4 separate regions of the Homo sapiens genome follow, and regions 1, 3 and 4 are each linked to region 2. Evidence: promoter capture Hi-C in 16 types of primary human blood cells and fetal thymus (Javierre and others, 2016). All regions are on one chromosome and are shown on one strand. Each heading gives the region's core, a stretch centred on a gene start or on the middle of the fragment in contact. The rest is flanking DNA. Distances are from core to core; before and after follow the strand shown.

Region 1 (3,307 bases), core at 455-2,954, 260 kb before region 2:
CTCAGGTGATCCACCCACCTTGGCCTCCCAAAGTGCTGGAATTACAGGCGTGAGCCACCGCGCCAGGCCTCTAACTTCTAATTTCATGCTTTTCCTATTGTCTCTTGATGAGTGTGTGTTTGTGGGGGGCACACTTTATTTAAGCAAGGAAGAGCTGACTTTTATAAAATTTTAAGTACAATTTATACCCTCAGACACTGGCATGTGGCCTAAAGGTAATAAAAGGGCTTTATGGGTGTCTCAGATGTTCAGTTGTCTGATGGTCTGGTCTTTCTTTTTTCTTTTTCAACTCTGTATGTCTCTCCTTGTCCTTGCTTTCCCCGGAGAGCTAGAGTAGACTGAAATGGGAAGACAAAAAATCAAGGAGGAGCTTCCTAAAAATGGTTTAACCTCAGGCAAAAGTACTTTCTAGACAACCCTTTTGGAACTGACTCCTTTAAGTAATCTTTGCTTGGGTCTCTGGAGACCTTGGATATCCCAAGGGCCAAAGAAAACAAAGCTGAGGTGTAAACAACACAAGAGGTGACCCATTTGTTTCCCAGCCACTCAGAATAATCATATCTTATCCAATGCCTTCTATGCGTCAGGAATTTTGTATTTATTATTTCACTTTGTCTTTGTAACCAGTATTATCTTCATTTGACAGATGAAGAAACCCGGGCTCAGAAAAGCTATATAACTTGTCCAAGATCTCAAAACTAATTAGTGACATAGCAGATACTTAAACCCAAGTCACTTCTTATACCAAAGAAAGTAAATTCAGTTAACCTTTCAAAATTTCCTTCATCTTTTACTATAACTTAACCTTTCCCACCCCCCACTTTTGTTTTTTTTGTAGATTTTATCCCAACCAGACTATAAGCTTCCACGTTGCTTAATATATCTTGGAGGAAAGACAAGGGTTTTGAAGCTAGACAAAGTGGGTTTGATTCCCAGCTCTCCTACATGCTTGGTGTATGACTTTAAAAGAGAATGTTAATAAGAAAAATAGTAAGAAAAAAAGAGAGAGGGCGAAAAAGAGATGTAACTCACACAAAAAAAGTTAATATTAGAGAAGTCTGGGAAAATTATATACCAACTTTATCAACTGGTCTGGCTTAACTAAAAAATCAATACAAATATATCATTAACTGAACTTTTTTTTTTTTTGAGACAGGGTCTTGCTCTGTCACCCACACTGGAGTGCAGTGGCGCAATTTTGGCTCACTGCAACCTCCGCCTCCCGGGTTCAAGCAATTCTCCTGTCTCAGCCTCCCGAGTAGCTGGTGACTATAGGCGCATGCCACCACACCTGGCTAATTTTTGTATTTTTAGTAGAGACGGGGTTTCACCGTGTTAGCTAGGATGGTCTCGATCTCCTGACCTTGTGATCCACCTGCCTCGGCCTCCCAAAGTGTTGGGATTACAAGCGTGAGCCACCGCGCCCGGCCAACTGAACGTTTGATATGGCCTGCATAAGGAACAAGACAATGGTCAAGATTTTCTAAGTATCCAGAGCGAGTATTTCTAGGAGAGCAAGATTCTCAGAACTGCTCTAAAAGGTCAGGGTTCATTTCATACCCTCCTCTAGACTCCCACTATACTTGGTTCTACACTTCTAAACACAGCACTCCTCCTTTGCCTGTTGTTAACAATCTCTGGACTCCTTCCATTGCTGAGTGTCTGTAATTCTTAGTACAGTACAATGCTTGATACACAACAGGCATCTATAATCATTAACCGAATTAAAAGAAATGTACCGGCTGGGGCGCGGTGGCTCACACCTGTAATCCCAGCACTTTGGGAGGCCAAGGTGGGCAGGAGATCGAGACTATCCTGGCCAACATGGTGAAACCCTGTTTCTACTATGGTGAAACCCTGTCTCTACTAAAGATTTAAAGATTTACTCTAGCTAAATCTAAAAACTGGTTGGGCGTGGTGGCGCGCTCCTGTAGTCTCAGCTACTCAGGAGGCTGAGAGAGGAGAATCGCTTGAACCCGGGAGGTGGAGGTTGTAGTGAGCCGAGATCATGCCACTGCACTCCAGTCTCCAGCCTGGGTGACAGAGCAAGACTCCATCTCCTTAAAAAAAAAAAAAAAAGAAATGTGCCGCTGGGTGTGGTGCCTCACGCCTATAATCCCAGCACTTTGGGAGGCTGAGGCAGGCAGATAACCTGAGGTCAGAAGTTCAAGACCAGCCTGGCCAACACAGTGAAACCTTGTCTCTACTAAAAATACAAAACTTAGCCAGGCGTGGTGCCGCCTGCCTGTCAAAAATTAGCCAGGTGTGGTGTCATGCGCCTGTAATCCCAGTTACTTGAGAGGCTGAGGCACAAGAATCGCTTGAACCCGGGAAGCAGAGGTTGCAGTGAGCCAAGATTGCGTTACTGCACTCCAGCCTGAGTGACATAGTGAGAACCTGTTTCAAAAAAAAACAAATACAAAAAAGTATGGTTAACACCCTCAACTTCCCTTAAACAACTCACATGACTTTATCATCCCCAAATTTATAATTCTCAACTTTTCTGTTGGTATCATCTTTTGGAATCAGAAGTCCCATAAGCTTACTATTGCAAAACAACTTCATTTGTTTTATTTATCAAATTACTTATTGTTTCAAGCAAGAGCACAAAGCCAATAGGTTCTTTATTTTTTTTGGAATCATGGGTCCCTCTGAGAATTTGATGGAAGCTACTGATTAGCAACCCAGAAAAAAATATAAACTCATAATATATTATATACAATATTGGCTATGGGTATAGAAAGGCTGGGTATTGGTTAAAAAAAAATCCCCCAAAGGCCTGTTACAAGCCCTTTCATATGGGCTCAATTTTTACATTCCAGGACAGTAGAAAACTCTGTCATATTGACTATGGTCTCCCAAATCTTTTCCTTAGTGCACAATTTAGAGCTTTGCAACTTTGAAAATTTTTTTTTTTAATTTTAAGGCAATTTTAGATTTATATGCAGTTCTAAGAAATAACAGAGATCCTGTATACTTTAGTTTTCCCCATAACATTTTGCATATCTGTATCACAATCAGAAAATTAACATTAAAATAAGAAAATTTGTTGTACAGGTTTCATGGAAAAAAAATTAACAATTGACTTTATTAGGATTTCACCACCTTTACATGTACTTGTTTGCTTAGTTCTATGCAATTTAATCAGACTCATGTGACCACCACCTCAGTCAAGATACAGAACAGTTCCATCATGAGGATCCTTACCCTTTGATAGCCAGTCACCGTTTTCCCTCATCTCTCACCACTGGCAACCACTAATATAGTCTTCATCTCCACTATTCTGTTTCTTCAAGAATGTTATATT
Region 2 (3,269 bases), core at 354-2,853:
TAGTAGCTGAGCCTTGAAATCCAGAGATGTCTGACTGTGTTTGAGGGTGCCTAGCAAACCCTAGGAGCCTTGCTTGCCAGTGCTAGGCCCAAGGCACAGGCCTCCTTGGGCATCCGCAGCGAAAGGGAAGGTGCCGGCCCAGCCCTCCTCCCTGCCTCATAAGGCCTCATAAATTCTCTTAAGGTGACAGGTGAGATTCCTTCATCGTCCCTTATTACCTCCTTCCATTAAAGTTGATAATCTCTCACAATCACTCACAACAAATGTCACCGAGGCTGCTGGAGGTGGGAGGGACAGAAGGAGGGAAAAGAGGGCGGTTCTATGCCTCTTCCTGGTACTGCCCCTGGGAAGAGGTAGGCTTTTCTCTTCTTGCCCCATCTTGAGGGTGCCACAACTTAAGGGGCATCAGTGGAGAGGTGGGGTTGGTATTTGCTGAAATGAGGACTTCTTTGCACTGAAAATTTGGCCCTTCCTGGCTAGTGAACCTTCAAAAAGTATGGTCCTGAAACCATCCCACCCTCATCGCAAAGCTGAAACCATCCCACCCTTATTGCAAAGCTGCCCCCTGCTGGTTTCTCCTCTGACCAAAGCCATGGGATTAACCTACTTGTGTTGGCTGCAATGGTGCGTCCCTGGTCGGCCTACCTTACTGATGGCAACATGCCCAGGCCACAAACTGCCTGACCAGAGCCCTGAACCATGGGCATCTCCCTGTGTACCGCCTGAACCATGAGGGCTCAGGCCCCACCCAACTGTTTCTGGGCTTAGTGCCAAGATGGGGAAGGGGTGGGTCTGTACATCTCTGCTGCTTCTACACAAACAGATGCAACATGGGGGCGCCCCTGGCACAGGGAAAGGCACTTGTGGGAATAGACAGGGACTCAGGAAAACATGTAACACACTGCACACGTGTAGCATCCCCGTGCCTAAGGACGTGCAACATTGCAGTTTACAGTATGCATCAAACATGTCACATTGCAGTATACATATGTGGCTGCTACATGAGTTACCCACAGTCCTCAGCACACATGTGGCACCTGTAAGCTTGCATACATATAACATCCCTGCGCACAGGAACAAGCAACATGCATTCAGGACTTGGGCACATGTTAATACACCGTGCATGTGTGTGGCACTTGCATGCACCTACCCAGGCAACATGGCAGTGCACACTTAGGGCACCTGTATGCATATGCAAAGTTCAGCGCACATGACTGGCACCTGCATGCACAGGGACATGCAATATGCAATGCACATGGGAAGGTGAGCAAATGCTTCAGCCTGCAGGGCCCGGGACACCCTGGCGGCGCGACAAGCCTCCGGCATGGGTATAGCTGGAGGGGCGTCGCGGATCGCCTCATTCTGCGGTCCAAGAAGCAGCGGGCTGGGCGGGGGCTTACCCAGGGCTTCTCCCGCGCCGGCGCCTGGGGCCCAAGGCGGGGAGGTGGGGGGCACGATCGGCTCGGCTGGCGCTGTTCCCCCTTTAACAGGAGGCGGCGCGCGTCGCCCCCGCCCCTTCTCCCGCGGCTCCTCGCGCCCGGCCCGGCGCGCGCCCCCTCCCGGGCCCGGCCCGCGCAGGCGCCGCGTCCCGCCTCGGCCGTCACTCGGCCCGGCGCGCGCTGCGGGCAGCGGCCGGAGCGGCCGGAGGAACCGGGTTCGGCGGCAGCGGCGGCGGCGCTCAGAGACCGAAGAGGATGCGGCACCGGCTCTCAGAGCCCGGGGCTGCGGCCGCCGCCCGCAAATAGGAGGCGGCGCGCGGCGCGGGCGGTGCTCGGGGCGGGGGAGCGGGGGAGCGGGGGGCGGCGCGGCAAGGAGGCGGCGGCGGCGGCGGCGGCAGGAGCCCGCGCCCGGCCCGGCGCCGCCCGCCCGCCCGCCCCGCGCTGCTCCGCGGCGCCTTTTCTGCACCCGCCGCCCGGGAGAGCGGGAGCCTCGGCCCTCCGCGCGGCTGCAGCTACCTACCCTGCGCCCGGCCCGGTCCCCGACTTAGGGATGGCAAACTTGCGCCCCGTGGCCGCCCCCGCCAGCGCCGGCCCCCGCTCCTGCTGCTGACGGCGCCCAGGTGAGTGCTCGGCCCCAGACCCCGACCTGGCCTCGCACCGAGCCCTGCCGGCGCGGTCCCGAGTTTCCGCACCGGCCCGGACTCGGGGCGCTCTCCTAACCCGTCTCTGCTGAATTCTCCCCCAGCCCGAACTGAGTTCGTTCAGCGTTCGCCCACCCCCATCTTCTGGGGAACTCCCAAACCTAGGGCCGAGGCCCCCTTAATCGCTGGTGAATCTCTAATCTCGGCCCCCCCCCTCCCCCAGCCTGGACCGACCCTCTTACCCATCTATGCTAAAGTCTCCCCCTCCAGAATTCTGACACAGACCGTGCTTGCTGTCTCGAGTCTTTCCCTATCTCGGCCTGGATCCGGGCAGTGTGCCCCCCACCTTTATTAGAGCCCCCCCATTAACCTGCAGCTCAACTGTGTCTCCCCCTCTATTTCCCGTCACGGTCTGAATGCCGGACCCTGCTCCTCTCCTCCACTTCATCACTGCCCGGAGTCTTTCCTGTCCCCATCCATGTCTGCCCATAGTTTCTACCCTCCCCCGCGCCTGTACCCCGACCATGCTTCTTCTCTATTTCTGCCCCTAGCGCCCCCTCCCCCATATCTATCTGACCGGAGTCCCGCCTTCCCTCGCCAATCTTGCTGCAAGTCCCCTCCCCTCAGCTTGGAATTGGGGCCGTGTCCCCCGTGTCTGCTCCGCGCCCCCTCCCCTCCAGCTGAGATCCCGACTGGACCCGCATCCCTGACTCCCGTGTCCATCTTTGGCCGGAGTCTATCTGTCCATCCCCCATCCCTATCCTCCCACCCCTGGTCATAGAGCTGGGCACCAGACGCACCCTCCCGCAGCCCCAGGGCCGGCATGATCCGGAGGGGGTTGTAGGCTGTGAAGTTGGCGGCCACTCCCGCAGTCAGCTTGGTCCGAGGGCACAGCCGGGGGAAGTCCTCCGCGCCGCGGCCCGTGCAGAGCAGGCGACGGGTCTGTTGCCCGCCGGGGGGAGGGGCGCCCGGGCCGAGAGATGCCGCCTGCCTGCCCGCCTCGCCAGCTGCCGGCCGGGCTCCTGGGCGTCCTCTGGCGCCCCCTGCCCGAAGCCTGGGACCCGCCACCCCTTCTCCCGCGGGCAACCCCGGGTTTCCGCAGCCAGAGCATCAGCGGTGGCTGCAGGACTGACGCTGGGAAATCCCTGGGGAGAGGAGATTGGTGGGCCAGGCCAGGTGCCTCCTCGTG
Region 3 (3,218 bases), core at 579-3,078, 300 kb before region 2:
TACTAAAAGTACAAAAAAAAAAAAAAATTAGCCTGGCATGGCGGTGTGCACCTGTATCCCAGCTGCTTGGGAGGCTGAGGCAGGAGAATTGCCTGAAGCTGGGAGGTGGAGGTTTCAGCGAGCTAAGATTGCACCATTGCACTCCATCCAGCCTGGGCGACAGTGCAAGACTCCATCTCAAAAGAAAAAAAATTTTTTTTTTTTTTTTTTTTTTTTTTGTAGAGACAGGGTCTCACTATGTTACCCAGGCTGGTCTTCAACTCCTGGGCCCAAATGATCCTCCTGCCTGGGCTTCCCAAATCACTGGGTTTACAAAATGGAGCCACCACACCTGGCCCAAATCTGTCCTATAAATCAGCATTTTTTTTTTTTTTTGAGATGGACTTTTGCTCTTGTTGCCCAGGCTGGAGTGCAATGGCACGATCTCGGCTCACTGCAACCTCTGCCTTCCGGGTTCAGGCGATTCTCCTGTCTCAGTCTCCTGAGTAGCTGGAATTACAGGCGCCCACCACCATGCCTAATTTCCATATTTTTAGTAGAGTTGGGGTTTCGCCATGTTGGCCAGGCTGGTCTCGAATTCCTGAACCTCAGGTGATCCGCCCGCCTCGACCTTCCAAAGTGCTGGGATTACAGGCATGAGCCACTGCGCCTGGCCTTAAATCAGCAGTTTTCAGACCAGACTATGCAGACCTCTGGTGGTACACAGAAGTGATGAATCCACAGGATAAAACACAATGCAGCTTTCTGGAATGTCAGTTTTATTCAATGGAAATATAAGGCAGAATTTTCTTTTTCTTTTTTTTTTTTTGAGATGGAGTCTCGCTCTGTCGCCCAGGCTGGAGTGCAGTGGCGCAATCTCGCCTCATTGCAAGCTCCGCCTCCTGGGTTCACGCCATTCTCCTGCCTCAGCCTCCCGAGTAGCTGGGACTACAGGTGCCTGCCACCGGGCCTGGCTAATTTTTTGTATTTTTTAGTAGAGACGGGGTTTCACCACGTTAGCCAGGATGGTCTCGATCTCCTCACCTTGTAATCTGCCCACCTCGGCCTCCCAAAGTGCTGAGATTACAGGCGTGAGCCACCGCGCCCGGCCTGTAAGGCAGAATTTTCAACATCAAATCGCAGTCATTAAGAACACGTTCTCTGGAGCCAGACTTCCTAGCCCCATCACCTACTGGCTGTATGACATTAGCAAGTTACTTAACCTTTTTGGGTCTCAGTTTCCTCAAGCCTTATGGGTTTGAGAATCTATGTAAAGTATTTAGACTAGAACCTGACATACATTCAGTGCTATTGAAGCATTAGCTATTTTTATTAAAACATGGATATACTGTAAAGTACAAAGTAAACTAATGTGGGCTGGGCATGATGGCTCACGCCTGTAATCCCAGCACTTTGGGAGGCCAAGATGGGCAGATCACCTGAGGCCAGGACTTCAAGACCAGCCTGGCCAACATGGCAAAATCCCACCTCTACTAAAAACACAAAAATTAGGCAGGTGTGGTGTTGTGCACCTGTAATCCCAGCTACTCAGGAGGCTGAGGCATGAGAATCACTTGAACCCGGGAAGTGGAGGTTACAGTGAGCTGAGATTGTGCCACTGCACTCCAGCCTGGGAAACAGAGCGAGACCCTGTGTCAAAAACAAAAACAAGCCAGGCGCGGTGGTTCACACCTGTAATCCCAGCACTTTGGGAGGCTGAGGCGGGCGGATCACCTGAGGTCGGGAGTTTGAGAACAGCCTGACCAACATGGAGAAACCCCGTCTCTACCAAAAATACAAAATTAGCCGGGCATGTTGGCACATGCCTGTAATCCCAGCTACTCAGGAGGCTGAGGCAGGAGAATCGCTTGAACCCGGGAGGCAGAGGCTGTGGTGAGCCGAGATCGTCCCATTGCACTCCAGCCTGGGCAACAAGAGCAAAACTCCATCTCAAACAAACAAAACAAACTAATGTGAATTTAAGATTGAAGGCTTTGAAAAAAATGTCACCTGCAGCCCGGTCCCAGCCCACCAGGGATTTGCTTTCACCTTCTCTTGCCAGCAAGAATACTTACATCTGATTTTCAATACCAGAGAATCCAGGTGTCTTCATGTTCTTCCAGTTTCCTGGGCCATTCTCACTCCATGTATACATTAGTCTCCCCACACAACCTCCCACCTGTCAGGCAATCCCCCTACCCCCATTCTTATCCAGACATTTGTCTTCCCACATCTTATATTACAAATATATGTAAACTATAGAAAACCCAGAAAATGTCACATTTCTTTAGTTTAAAAAGAGATAAGATTTTGGCAGGTAATGTATTTAAGGTAATTAAGATAGAGAGAACTGTAAAGTAGGCTATGTTCCAGAAGGGTGAGTCTAGTTTGGCTTGAGAATAACTGAAGATGAGGTTGGAAAAATAGGTTCAATTCAGATCACTTGATGATCCTGAATGTTACACACAGTAAAGAATTTGGACTTGATTTCAACTCTCTAAGCCTGTTTCATCTGTACAATTAGGAAAATTACTATGTTGTGAGGATTAATGGAGAGAAGCAAACACATGGGAGAGATATCCTGTGACAAATGGAGCAGATGTTATTAGGAGTTGGAGACACAGATTCTTTTCCTTAGTGTAAACTATCCCCACCTCTCAGGGTGGCCTGAAATTCAGTCTCTCATTTATCTTATTTTTCTGTAATGCACATCTTAACCACCAGAGAGAGCCTGATACAAAGGAATCTCAACTCCAAGTACAACAGAGAAATTAAGCTGGGCATAAGATGTGGAATCCTGGATACAACTGCAGCGATTCTCAATGGTAGGGTAGGGAATGGATCCCAGTGCCTCCTCTATGGGCCTTCTTAGACCCATCCCAAGGAGAGGGGGTGGGGCATGCTGCCACAACCTAGAATTTAGCAGCTAGCCAGATGTAAGGTCACCAGGAAAGAGGTGAGGTGGGTAAGGATGAGGGCCAGATCTAGTTTAGGGACCTGAATTTCTGTATCTCAAGCAAAAGAGACTCTCAACTCTGCTCATAAGCCACCAGGCCCAACTCCTTCCTGGGCTACCCCATGGCAGGCCAGGTCATCTAGCTGGCCCGGGAACTTTAGAAAATTTCTAAAGAGCAGGGGGTGCATCGTGGGGAAGGAGGAAGGGGAGAGAGTGGCATATCTAAGAGCTGTCTTTAGGGTGACATCCACATGGCATCAAGACCTCAGCCTTTAGGTCTATC
Region 4 (2,888 bases), core at 55-2,554, 420 kb before region 2:
ACTATTTCTCACTACCACCCGAACATATTTGTTAGATCATAAAAGTATGTAAAGCATCAGCACACAGGGATGGCACGGAGCAACTTCTAGTCCATCTCCTTCCCCCCCACAAAACCATTTCTTGCCATTCAGATCATTCTAGAAATGCCTCAAACAGGAAGGGCAGTTAGCTGCTGGTGGCTGAGGTGTTTCTAACGGGACCTGGATTTCCTGACTGGGTGCCTCGTTTGGCTGCCACCTGACTTAATCCCGTCGGAGCTTCTCTCCAGAACTCTGTTCCTGTGCTTAGAGGGGGCAGCTCCGCCAACTCGCCAGAGCGCAGGGGGGACCGCGGCCCCCAGCACTGTCCTCTCATTCTACATCTCCTCCTCCCGGACAACCTGGCCTCGGCCTGTAAGTCCAGAAGCGAGGCCGACCCCACAGCTCCTCCCCCTGCCCGCTGGCAACGCAGAGCTGGCACACACCCTCCGGCTTCCGAGGAGCCTGGCTGCTGCCGGGACCTTCTGCTTCTACTGCAGGAGCCGCCTGGCTGGGCCGCTCCTGGGCTCCCTCGGGTCCTGCTTCCGGTTGTCCTGGGCTGCTTTTTGGATTGGATTGTTTGGCAGCCCCGTTCTTTTTGTCTTGGTTCTTCATTGTGATGAGCGATGCTGGGTCAGGAGAAGATCCTTTAGAAACAAACACAGTTGCTATTTTCCAGACTTCGAAATTCTTCGCAGCCTGGATCAGAAATCCCCACAGCAGGCGCACAAAGCTTCTTAAAATAAACGGACCGGCAGGCCCGGGCGGAGGGCGCCAACGGCTCTCTGGTCTTGGCGGGTCAGGAGAGCCCGACGTGCCGGGGCAGGCTTTCGGGGCGCAGCTCCCACAGCGGGTGAGGGAAGAGGCCTCTTCTCCCTGGAGCCACTTCCCGGCACAACCGGCCCCCTCGCGGCAGGCCGGGCGCGGGATTGGCTCAGGGCCGGAGACTGACGTGGCGGGACTCCCGGCACCGCCCCCGCCCCTCAGGCCCCACGTGCGCCCCCCGCGCGCGCAGCCACCCACGCCCCGCGCGCCCTCAAGCCGCGAGGCACGCCCGCGCATGCGCATATCCCCAGACAGCCCCCGGCCCACGCGGGGAGTTGGCGTGATTTCCCCACAGGCCGAGAACATCCCGGCCCGCACACTCTCAAATAGTCTCGCCCACCGGCCGCCGCTGCACGTACCTCACCGCCGACGTCCGATGGCTTCCCCACCTCTGGCCTCGCACCGGAAACCCCGAGTAACTGCTGCCGGCCAGCCGCCTGCTCCCGCCTCAGCCAATCAATAGCCGGCGCCGGCGCGGAGCTTGCTGGGAAGGACGAAGCGAGGGCGGCCTCGGAGGCGGGCGCCCCGGCAGGGCGGGGCAGGGAAAAGACTACGCGTCCCTCTTTACGCAGGGGCTAGCCGCAGATCCCAAGGTGCATAAGGGACTGTAGTCCTGGGAGTCCAAAAGGAGCCCGTCATTCTGCACGAGTGCCCATGTCAACCTTGTTTCTATCTCGCAGAAGCTATGCTTCAACTCCCAAAGCCTTGCGCCTGGCTGTTGTTTCCTGCAGGCCTCCATCAAACCTTCCTCCCTGGCCGTGAACAAATGTGACTCCATCCGGGAACTCCGAGGACTCGGGAAGAGGGATAGAGTCCTGGGCTGAGACTCAGGAGACCCATACTCCAGTCCCAACTTCATCACGGATTTGCTGTGTGGCTGGACGTTCTGTTCTCTCTCTGGGCCTCAATGTCCTTCTTCCAAAGGAGGCTTTTAATAACAATAGCAGTTCCTTGAACGCTTACTGTGTGCTTTCCCGCTATCTAATAGCTTGGTTCTCATAACCACTCATAGAAATAACTACTATCTGTTATCCCCATTTTACGGAAAAGGACAGTAAGAGAAAGGTTAGGTAACTTATCCAAGGTCATATCGATAGTGAGTGGTTAAAACAGGGATTCAAAACTGGTAAGTCTGAGACCAGCACCCAGGTAATTACCTGGTCTTTCACCCAGAAGAAACACTACCACAGCAGGTTTCCCTGAGGCAGTCAAGGTAACTTGTGAAAGTAGGTCATATTTTCCCCTCTCCATTACCATTTTGGCAGTCAGTTCCTCAGAAAGGTGCTGAGTTAGGCTTCAGGCATATTCATGAGCCTTTTCTCTACCCCACACTCTACAAAGTCTCACTGGGGTTAAAGTAGAAAAAACCCCCACAGTTCCCTACACATGAGATCACAATTCTGTATCCCCATTGCTTCTGGATAATGAAATCAAACCCAACAATCCTTGTGCCTGGAATTTGAAGCCTAAGAGATTTGACTTTTGCCAAACCCAAAATTTTTTGAGGCCCAGTTCAAAGGTCACTTCAGAGCCTTCCCAGTGCTCTGCAAACCGTACTTGCTCCCTAGGTCTGCAGAGTTGTTACAGCATTAGCAGTGAGGTGTTGAAATTACTATTTACTTATAAGTCAGTTAATTTTGCAAGAACTGTTGGCTAAATAGTCTAGTCCCAGAGCCTCGCATCAGGCTGTGGGTAGAGAAGATTGTAAACTGTTGTGCTAATTGAGCGTTGGTTTAGGGCTGTTAGGATGTTAAATATTTCCCCCAAAGGCTCAGTGAAAGACTTCAGAGCCGTGCATGTTGGATTTCAGATTTTCAGATTGGGGAAGCTCAACCGGTAAAATTTGAGAAAATCCCAAATTGGAAACACTTCTGGTCCCAAGCATGTTGGATAAGAGATATTCAATTTTTAGTATAATGATGGAACTGAGGCTCAGAAAGGTTGGAATCTAGATGTCCTGAAACCAAGGCCCTGATTATTTCTAGAAAAGCATTCTGGAAATCTCTTGAGAAGGCACCATATAAATCAGGCCTTGATAGATTTCC

What was found. The method cuts DNA at HindIII sites, captures the fragments that hold promoters and counts their contacts. A CHiCAGO score of 5 or more calls a contact.
Region 1: a fragment that was not itself captured here is called in contact with the fragment with the promoter of ADGRB2 in region 2 in 1 of 17 cell types (fetal thymus); the score reaches 6.5 in fetal thymus.
Region 3: a fragment that was not itself captured here is called in contact with the fragment with the promoter of ADGRB2 in region 2 in 1 of 17 cell types (fetal thymus); the score reaches 5.0 in fetal thymus.
Region 4: the fragment with the promoter of TXLNA here is called in contact with the fragment with the promoter of ADGRB2 in region 2 in 7 of 17 cell types (fetal thymus, megakaryocytes, non-activated CD4 T cells and 4 more); the score reaches 11.5 in fetal thymus.

What each region holds. Positions count from the first base shown.
Region 1 is chr1:32,020,732-32,024,038 of GRCh38, reverse strand. All of the region lies in intron 1 of KHDRBS1 (KH RNA binding domain containing, signal transduction associated 1), which reads right to left. Among named protein-coding and RNA genes, the nearest start is that of KHDRBS1, 8.5 kb to the right of the region's middle. The HindIII fragment of the contact is 1,679 bases long and covers 865-2,543 here.
Region 2 is chr1:31,762,674-31,765,942 of GRCh38, reverse strand. It overlaps ADGRB2 (adhesion G protein-coupled receptor B2), which reads left to right and starts at 1,603. Exons shown (of 33, transcript NM_001364857.2): 1 at 1,603-2,059. RefSeq lists a silencer at 2,921-3,190 and an enhancer at 3,132-3,269. The HindIII fragment of the contact is 4,434 bases long and covers 1,047-3,269 here.
Region 3 is chr1:32,063,068-32,066,285 of GRCh38, reverse strand. No RefSeq gene overlaps it. Among named protein-coding and RNA genes, the nearest start is that of TMEM39B, 8.3 kb to the left of the region's middle. RefSeq lists a silencer at 2,584-2,878. The HindIII fragment of the contact is 5,220 bases long and covers 1-3,218 here.
Region 4 is chr1:32,178,091-32,180,978 of GRCh38, reverse strand. TXLNA (taxilin alpha) reads right to left here and starts at 1,304. Exons shown (of 11, transcript NM_175852.4): 1 at 1,203-1,304; 2 at 465-665. The coding sequence starts at 633. RefSeq lists enhancers at 301-350, 361-520, 641-720, 608-1,366, 1,367-2,126 and silencers at 921-1,100, 1,241-1,430. The HindIII fragment of the contact is 3,390 bases long and covers 754-2,888 here.